Regions from separate parts of the Homo sapiens genome. Here all the other regions are linked to region 3. Evidence: promoter capture Hi-C in human tissues and cell types (Jung and others, 2019). All regions are on one chromosome and are shown on one strand. Each heading gives the region's core, a stretch centred on a gene start or on the middle of the fragment in contact. The rest is flanking DNA. Distances are from core to core; before and after follow the strand shown.

Evidence for each region. Contacts are between HindIII fragments. The study calls those that stand out against the background at their distance.
Region 1: a fragment that was not itself captured here is called in contact with the fragment with the promoter of SLC7A14 in region 3 in 2 of the 25 tissues and cell types used here (mesenchymal stem cells and pancreas).
Region 2: a fragment that was not itself captured here is called in contact with the fragment with the promoter of SLC7A14 in region 3 in 2 of the 25 tissues and cell types used here (aorta and mesenchymal stem cells).

What each region holds. Positions count from the first base shown.
Region 1 is chr3:170,676,876-170,679,911 of GRCh38, forward strand. The region is part of intron 2 of SLC7A14-AS1 (SLC7A14 antisense RNA 1); the gene reads left to right. Among named protein-coding and RNA genes, the nearest start is that of SLC7A14, 92 kb to the left of the region's middle. RefSeq lists an enhancer at 1,002-1,503. The HindIII fragment of the contact is 4,059 bases long and covers 1-3,036 here.
Region 2 is chr3:170,507,078-170,510,162 of GRCh38, forward strand. All of the region lies in intron 2 of SLC7A14 (solute carrier family 7 member 14), which reads right to left. The region is part of intron 2 of SLC7A14-AS1 (SLC7A14 antisense RNA 1); the gene reads left to right. Among named protein-coding and RNA genes, the nearest start is that of SLC7A14-AS1, 41 kb to the left of the region's middle. The HindIII fragment of the contact is 8,214 bases long and covers 1-3,085 here.
Region 3 is chr3:170,584,766-170,588,187 of GRCh38, forward strand. SLC7A14 (solute carrier family 7 member 14) reads right to left here and starts at 1,310. Exons shown (of 8, transcript NM_020949.3): 1 at 1,146-1,310. The region is part of intron 2 of SLC7A14-AS1 (SLC7A14 antisense RNA 1); the gene reads left to right. RefSeq lists a silencer at 1-89. The HindIII fragment of the contact is 10,108 bases long and covers 1-2,230 here.

The sequences.
Region 1 (3,036 bases), core at 525-3,024, 93 kb after region 3:
GTCATGTGGCATTGTAGAAGAAAATAAGGCATTTAGGTTTTAGGTCCGGTGAGAGTTGAAGAGGTTTTATGTTCTTAAGAACACAGGCTAAGGGAGAAGAAGGAGGAATGGAGGATGGAAGGTTGCCTATAGTGAAGGAGGCAAGTTTAAAGAAAAGTAAGAGTAGAGACACGGAGGGAAGGGGTTCGGGGGTTCTTACCCTCCAGAAAAGCGGGAAAGGGGTTGGGGCACAGAGATATGAGGTCGGGGCATGGAAATAAGGGATCAGGGCACAGAGATATAAGAGGTTGGGGCATGGAAATAAGGGATCAGGGTGCAGACATATAAGAGGTCAGGGCATGGAAATAAGGGATGGGGTGCAGAGATACGAGGTTGGGGTACTTGCCCCTCCCCCAGAAAAGCAGGACTTGCCACTAAGGGTGAAGGAGAAGGGGTTGGGGGTTTCTTGCCCCCCAGAAAGGTGGAGAAGGGGTAGAGACATGGAGAGAAGGGGTTGGGGTACTTGCCTCTCCCCCCAAAAAATGGGACTTGCCGCTAAGGGTGAAGGACCAAGGCAGGCATCCCTGCATGGTCTGACACCTCTGAAACATGGGTGAATAATCAGAGAGGCATCCCTGCAATGATTAAACACCAAGGGAAGGCTGCCTTCCCAGCCCATGACCGGCGCCGGAGTTTTGGGTTCGCAGATAAAATGTGTCTCCTTTGTCTCTACCAGAAAATGAAAGGAATTGAAATTAAGAGAAGGGAGAGACAGAAGAGTGGAAAGGAGAAAGTGGCTGACGGTTAGTGAGAGAGGTTGGAGAAGAGAGTAAGAAGAGGCCGCTTACCCGATTTAAAATTGGTGAGATGTTCCTTGGGCTGGTGGGTCTGAGGACCTGAGGTCGTAGGTGGATCTTTTACACAGAGCAAAGAGCAAGAGGACAGAGGATTGATCTCCCAAAGGAGGTCCCCTGATCTGAGTCACAGCACCAAATTTCATGCGTGTCCGTGTGAAGAGACCACCAAACAGGCTTTGTGTGAGCAACATGGCTGTTTATTTCACCTGGGTGCAGGCGGGCTGAGTCCAAAAAGAGAGTCAGTGAAAGGAGACAGGGGTGGGGCCGTTTTATAAGATTTGGGTAGGTAAAGGAAAATTACAGTCAAAGGGAGTTGTTCTCTGGTGGGCAGGAGTGGGGGGTCACAAGGTGTTCAGTAGGGGAGCTTTTGAGCCAGGATGAGCCAGGAGAAGGAATTTCACAAGACAATGTCATCAGTTAACGCAGGAACAGGCCATTTTCACTTCTTTTGTGGTGGAATGTCATCAGTTAAGGCAGGAACCGGCCATCTGGATGTATACGTGCAGGTCACAGAGGATATGATGGCTTAGCTTGGGCTCAGAGCCCTGACAGTTATTATTTAAATCAGCCATGTGTCAATCCACCAAGTTCTTACTGAGAGTAGCTTTCTCTATGTCCACTAAGTCCACTCAGATCAGGATCAGGGAAACTCGACAACAAGGGCCAGAAGGGACATTAGGGATATTCTCATCAGAGTCTGCATTGTATCGAGGAGCAAATGGATATTTAACTGGCAACAATGACTTGCCCAGGGTCACACAGCAGCAGAACAAGGGCTGAAACCCAAGTTTCTTGGCTAGAAGACTAGTCTGCCCCCATATTCAAGTTCTCTTTAGAAAATTCTCAAAATTCTAGAGCTTAGTCCCTTCTCCTGACCCTTCCAATGCCATGGCAATTCTAAGCGAGGAAAGCCCTGAATTAAAGTCAATAATGAAGATACCTGGGGACAAAGATGGCTTTCACTACTGTTTTTTCACTAGGTGTGAGCAGTTGGTAAGACAGCAATGTATCACATCCAGGACATCACCATTATTACAGGAATAGTTACCCCATGAGCAGCTCTTAAAGATAAGACATGTCTGTGAGAGGTGGGCTGCAGAAAACCCTTTGGGAAAATTTGCTCTGGAAATTCAGAGTTGAAGATTTGTCTGCAAGGACAGTCTAAGGAAATGGTGACAGGGTAAGGGGAAATCAGGGCCAAGAGAACAAGGCTACCACACTGGGAGTTTTCTCTACACCCAGACTGAGAAAAGGGCTTTTGATTTTGGCCCAAACATTGAACTGCCTCTTTGTCCATGGGGGAATTCTAGGAAGTGCATGAAAACACTACAGCAAGACTTTCAAACTTACCCACAGACACATTTTATCTGAGATGCCTGGTGGCTTTTAAAATTTATAAGCCACTACATAAAAGTTAAGAGATTCCACATGAAATAGGAAGATAAACAACATGGATCCCTCATTCCCATAAGGCATTGATAGAGGAGAGGGGAGCAGTGGTTGCCCCTTGAGACAGGGCTTGAGCTTTCCATGCCCCCAGGGGCCCTGCTGCTCACTCATGGCACTGGCTGGGCCCTATGGACCTGTGGCATGTGACCTGGGCTCTGAAGGAGCCTCCTGCCTGTCTTGCTTATAGTTGGCATCACATTCTTCCTCATATCGTAGATTCCTGCATGCTCAACTCATCTCCCAACAGGCCTCCAAGCCCAATAAACGCTCTTGAAATGAATGAATCAGTATTTCAAGGTGCTAACTTGAAGCCACAGTATAGGTTTATGAAATTTTTATTTTGTAAATTATTCAGGAGCTTGGTTTGCTACCAAATGTTGAAAAGAAGCTTTGCTAAATAAAATTATTCGTAAGATACTGAAACAGGAAAACTAAGGTAATCTCCTTCCTGGATTTCTTTTAGTAAGAGGCAGGTCTCTTTCAGGTTAAGTTCAAAATATTCCTGCTGAAGGTGGGAAATGGGCCCCTTTAGATGGTGAGAGCTCTATTTCAGCCTTAGGATCTCATCATTAGCTGTGATGCAGAGGAGAATTGGACGAACAGCAGCGTGGTGCTGAGGAAAGTGTGTGGATGTGGGAATCAGACGAATCCAGTGCTAATCCCTGGTTTCGTTTCTTCCCACCTTTTGTGACCTTGGGCTTGTGGTTTACCTCCTTGGGCCTCAGCAGAGGATTATAGACCTCTTTTAAAT
Region 2 (3,085 bases), core at 229-2,728, 78 kb before region 3:
TTATTCACACTTGAATGCCAATTACTCTACCCAGATAGACAGATTTTCCCATTAATATGTAACTTATCTTACTTTGACTATTCCCTAACCTACTTATCAGCTCATTTAACAGTTTCCCAAATAATTTTTGACTTTCTAATTTCCTTCCTTTATTCCACACACATTAAGTGGCTATGAAATGAGGAAGTGCAATGAATGACAGAGACACAAATGGTAAGACAGATTTCCTGACCTTGAAGCATCTATATTTCAATCAGGAAAGAGTTTAATAAACAGCTGATTCCATGTGGCCAGTATTTAATACTATTGAGCATTTATGAGGTGTTCTTGGAGCTCAGTGCGGTGAGCGTGGTTCTTAGGAGCACGGTTCTTTGGTTGCTGTGGAAGCCCGGAGACTGGGGGAGGGAGCCTTTTAAGCTACTTCTTGGAGGGTAAGCTGGGCTTTGCCAGTCAGAAAAAAAATAGAGGAAAGGGTGGTTTCAGGCAGGCGAAAAGGTGTAGCTGGGCAGACACATGCAGGCTACTTTCGAGATTGTGGAAGATGAGCCTGCAGAGGTGGACTGAGATCAAGTGATTGAGGGGGTGGGACCTTTTTAACAGACGAGTGGACTAGCTGAAAAGGACTGTACAGTTCATCTACTTGTATAGTTTAAAGCTCTCTCTTAGTTGTAGAACTCTATTTTCCACACACAGTCTTATTTGAGAGCCCAATACATAAATAGGTAAAAGCAGGTGGCTCCGTTTGAAGGGTGGGAGAACCGAGGCTGGTCTGCTCAAGGTCTCCTTCATCCCATACTTCCCCAAAGCCCCTCACCCTCCTCTGTGGACCCCCAGGGCTGTACTGAGCATGGGAATGGGAAGAGGTGTCAGTTGCTCATCAGAGTTGTTCTTTTATTTTATAGATGATGCAACTGAGCTCCAGATCTGAAGCTGCGTATTCAATTAATGGCAGAGTTTGGGCTAGACCTGAGGTCTCCTGATATCCAGCCTTAGCAGCTTTCTAATTCACTCATTCATTTATCCCATGCACTGGTAAGGGATCATCTCTATGTATCTATATCAGCTTTTAAGGATTCAAAGGTGAACAGGAAGAATACAGTCTCTTTTTTGTGGGCCTTATAGTATCATGGAGGAAACAGACCAGAAAACCAACCAACCAGAAAGACTGTCCAAAAGGAAAGAGGCTATCAAGAATTATGAGAGGGAGTGGAGGCAGGTGTCCAAGAAAACAATTTGCCAACTTTACAGTTTCATGCAGGCCTCTGGGATCAGCAACAACTGGAGCGTTGCTCAGAGGTTCGGTCAGGCTGCCTTGAGTGGGCCATAGGTTGCTGATATCAGGCCCTATTAGGTATTTTGCGCATACTGTGTCTTATACTTCACACTGGGTAGGCAGGAAGGTTGGGGTGGGCTGATCTAGCAAATGGATGAGGTCAGTGATTTCTCATCCATGAAGTCAATTCTTCCCAAGTGCCAACTATCTGCCATCTCCCAGACACAGGATGGAATCAGCCGTTGGGTTACGCTGGTGAAATTCACTACTTAGGCCCAAACATGTCTGTAAGAAAGTCCTCACCAAATACAGCATTTTGCTGAGTTGTTACTTATTTTCTTCTGATTTCCTTACTTTTCTTAAAACATCTCTGTTCCGTTTATGCAGCCGCAGCGGGGCTAAGGCATGCTGTATATGTAGCTATTGTTGCTAGTCCTGCCTAAATGTAGATGGGGAGTGGGGTATGAAGAGAAATCACAGGACCTCAGAGAGAAATGAAGTGTGAATTCTCTCAGAAACATTTGTTTTCTCTGTGACACTGAGCTCCATATGGTGGGTAATGCAGTGTCCCCATTATTGCTGTCTTGAGAAGCAGGTTGCTGGGTCCTGAGAAACATCTATCCAGGCCCTGTCATATGCGGCTGGACCCAGTGAACCTGCACTGATGTCCTCTTCCCGATGCCCTTGGTTAGCCACGAAAACTGTGGGTTTTTCAGGGAGTGATTGGTCAGGTGCTCTGTCCCTTCAGCCTCACTGCTACTGTCTCTTCTACTTGAGCAACCTCGGTCACTCCATCACCTGTCAGGGAAGCCCAGGCAATTTTTACAAAGGTGTCTGAAGGAAAAGCAATTTGTCTGGGAATGCCTATGTTTCTTTGTGTCTAAGAAGAGACTTATGATTTCTCTGCCCAAGCAGGCGCCAGGTGGACAGTAACCACCTGTGTTTAGGGGACAGGCAGCATCATTAATCAGGGGTGTATGACATCATGTTATTGAACCTGACAGGGCTCCAATTAAAGTTGGGTAGGGAATAGAGAACTCCCAAGTCTGCCAAACCACTGCCCCAAATATATCAACATATAAACAGGTAGGAAATAAGTTGTCCTTTGAGTCAGAGAAGTCACCCCCCAAAACAGGTCAAGGAAGTTTAATAATTTGTTGATTAAATGTAACCAACTGGCCGGGCACGGTGGCTCACACCTGTAATCCCAGCACTTTGGGAGGCCGAGGCAGGCAGATCACCTGAGGTCAGGAGTTCGAGACCAGCCTGACCAACATGGCAAAACCCCGTCTCTACTAAAAATACAAAAATTAGCCTGGTGTGGTGGTGCATGGTTGTAATCCCAGCACTTTGGGAGGCCAAGGTGGGTGGATCACCTGATGTCAGGAGTTCGAGACCAGCCTGACCAACATGGAGAAACCTTGTCTCTACGAAAAATACAAAATTAGCCGGGCGTGGTGGTGCATGCCCGTAATCCCAGCACTTTGGGAGGCCGAGGTGGGTGGATCACCTGAGGTCGGGAGTTCGAGACCAGCCTGACCAACATGGCAAAACCCTGTCTCTATTAAAAATACAAAATTAGCTGGGCGTGGTGATGCATGCCTGTAATTCCAGCTACTCAGGAGGCTAAGGCAGGAGAATCACTTGAACCCTGGAGGCAGAGGATGCAGTGAGCCAAGATCGCGCCACTGCTCTCCAGCCTGGACAAGAGCAAAACTCTGTCTCAAAAAAAAAAAAAAAAAAAAATGTAACCAATCTGCAAGGTGTGGTGACTCACGCCTGTAATCCCAGCACTTTGGGAGGCTGAGGCAG
Region 3 (3,422 bases), core at 60-2,559:
CCCAGCGCTCTCCTAGACCCTATACCTAGGGGGAGGCAGGGTGACATCCTGCGGCCCTTGGGCAATTCGGGCCAGTGACGTTCACCGACACTCAGGCGGGGATCCCTTCGCCAGAGCCAGTTCCTTTGAGTGTCTCCGCTCAAAATCTCAAGGAAACGAGCTTCACACAGGTGGGGGGATGAGGAGTGCCAGAACAGGAGCGAGCCCCGCTGCTCTAGCCTTCCTGCATCTCTTCTCGCCTTTGCTTTGCTCACTCTTCAATCGCAATATAAAATACTCATTTGGGGAGGGGGCAGGGTGACACAGGAGAGAGAAGGAGGGTGGGGGCTGCATCCCGCGTGGCCACGCAGCCCTAACCTGGCCCTCTTGGATTAGAGGGGAGCTGATGTGCTTTGGAATGGGAGAAGAGAGGAGACTGAGGGTTGAAGCAGTGCAGGAGAGCTCCCCTTGCTGGGGCTGCCGGCTCTGGGCAGGGAGCTTCCCTGGACACCGCTCCCGTCACGTCCTCTTCGCCGCTCCCGGGAGAGTCACCACTCTCCGGGGACAGACGCCCCTCGGGGCGCCACCATCCTGGTCGGGGTGCTGGGCTCGGCGGGAGTCCCTTTGAGGAGTTTGCTCCCAGGTAAAAGGGCAGACGTTGCTCCCGACCTCCCCGGAGTCTGCGGCCGGAAAAGCGTCTCCGTTTCATGGTCTCGGTCCGAGGCGGAGAACGGAGCTGCCCGTGCGGGGTGCGCGCCAAGGCGGGGGACAGGACGGGCCCGGCGTCTGCCGAGACCTAGGCTGCCCGCATTCCGCTCGCGGCTCCCCTTCTGCCTCCCGCTCTAGCGGCGCCGGAGCCGCGCTGGCCCCCGCCCCGCCCGGCAGCTCCCGCGAGTCAGAGCCCGGTGCCCCCAGACCGCGGGCAGTCGGGGCCTCATTCCGGGCCAGAGCAGGAAAGAGCCCGACCCACCTCCTCGGTTCTTCCAGGGAACCCCTTCTCGGAGGGCGCCCTGGGCCTCCGCGCCATATTCCTGGTCCCCCGCTCCCGGTGACTCCGGCTCCCTGGGTCATTCCGGGAGAGGCGGCCATCCCAGTTGCAGGGGTCCCGCTGGGGCGCGGGGGGCGCGGAGGGGGACAAACGGCAGCGAAGGGGGCCGTTCACTTACCGGGGTCGGGGCTGGAGGCGACGAGCTGGCTGCCAAGGCTGGTGGCTGGCAGTCCGCACTTACTGCGCGGAGCTGTCTCTCTAGCTGGGATGGGAAGTGGTGGTGGCGGCAAAGGAAGGCAGGAGGCAGCCGCTGCTGCTGAACAGCTCCTCAATTATTCAGATTGGGCCCCCACCCCCCGAACCCCTCCCCGTGCCTGCTCGTCCTCCCTCCAGCTCGCCTGTCTCCGCCTCCTTGGAGTCACATGGCCTGCCCAACCCCTTACATACTGGGCCCAAGCCTGGCACCAGACCACCTCCCACCTGGCCCCCCTGCCTTCCCCTCTGTCTGCCGCTCACAACTCCTCGCTGGCCTTCTGAGCCTCCAGTTGTGACCTCCAGTGTCTTATGTCAGGCTGCAGGGAGGTTGAGGGGGCCGTGGATGGGGGCAGTTCTTTGCCCTGGGAAAGCAGGGACCAGCAGGACTCTGCAATGTCTGTGCGTTGGGAAGGCATCTGCCGCAGCTCTGCCCCTGCTAGACTGGGCTGTCCAGACCTCCTTCCTGCCCTCTGGAAGCTTCCCTCATCCTCTGCGGAGCCTTCGTTGCTCTTAAACTTCCACATCCCTGAGCCCTACAGGAAAGAAAAAATGAGAGAGGTTGATTTCTCCTCTCCTCCTAAAGAAGACAAGACCCACCTCTGTCTTCAAAGCTTAAGTTTATCGTTGGGTTCACAACATCTTATGGGTGCAAAGATCATGGACTTGAGATTTGAAGAGCCATTAGGATTCCAATCTGTATGACCTTGGAGCATTTAACTTTCTAGCTTTTCTTCTCTCGTCTGTGAAATAACCACCTTGCAGTATTGTCATGAGATTGAGAAATCATCATGTTCTTAGAATTGCCTAGCCTAGAGTTGGACAGGTATTTGGAGCTCAATAAAGGAGAGTTCTTTTTCCCCCACCTTTGTTAAAATAAATTTCACAAGGCAAGAAGGATGTGATGTGTGCTAATACAGTGAAAGCATCTTTTAAACATGGAAGGAGGCATCTGTGAGGTCAGGCTAGACAAGTACCAGTCTAAACGGAGACAAGAGTGAGATAAGGTTTCTGTTTTGTATTAGCTCCTTTAAGATGAGTGTCCTAGAGCCAGGTTATGTCCCAAAAGGATTGGGACTAGATGGGACCAACCCAGGCATGCTTGGCCACATCACCGAATGAATTATTTAACAAGCATTGAGTAGACTGATTTGGATGAAAGTTATCTACATAAATTCTTGCACTTTGGCCCAAGCCCTCAAAACACATGGGAGGCAACAAAATGTAACTCTCCTATCCTTGGAAATGAATTCACTGGGCTTGTGTTTGGGGAGAATACTGGCTGACTGATACTCCTCTAGGGTGGAGCAGTTCAAATCTAGCTCTACTTTGTGGGTCTGCCCTGGGCTCTTCCCAGAAAGTTGCTTGATCATTGCCAGGACAGTCTTGGTTAGTCCACCTACCTCAAGCTTGTTACTGCCTTCGATGAGCATCTAAGCCTGACAATATCCCCATATTTTAAGCTTTGAGTAGTTCTGCAGGATATGTTAGACCTCCTGGGATCACCAAGAAGCTGTGAGACATTGTAGGAAAAGTGCAAAGTTAAAAAATCAGAAATTTGGAATCTCAGTGCAGGTTCTGCCAGCTACTTATCATATGATTTTTCACAAATCACTTAAATTGTCAGACTCTCATCTTCAGAATGGGAAAGGAATGTCTACCTGCCTTCTATATAAGATGGTTGTGATGTTTAGATGGGATAGCACATGAGAAGTCACTGTAAAAGGTAAAGAGTATGAATACTATGGGCTGAAGAAAACCCTGAGTCTATTCTAGTCCAAATGAATTATGAGGGTGATAAGATGGGAAGATGGGATTTGTCATGGAATATGCAGCTACTAAAATGTTGGTGTGTTGCTCTAAGTCTGCATGTATGCCTGTAGCTCAGGGGATGTGATTATTGGAGAACTGCATTCTTTGTTTCACCTTTTTCTGGATAAATTTCTGATTTAAATCTCCATATTTCCCTGGCCTTTTATTTCTGGAACACCAGCCACAATCACAATAGTTATGAATATTTACTATCTGAGAAAAGTTTGTGCCTATATTTCAAGACAGCAGGGTTTAGACTTTTCTGCCTTTGCTAGGTAAAATTGACTTGGGTTGGTAATTCAAAATGGCTTCGATTTCAAAGAAAAAAAATTTGGATTCTAGGAACAAACTCTAGACATTCATCAGCAGCTTGAATGATGATATGTGTTTC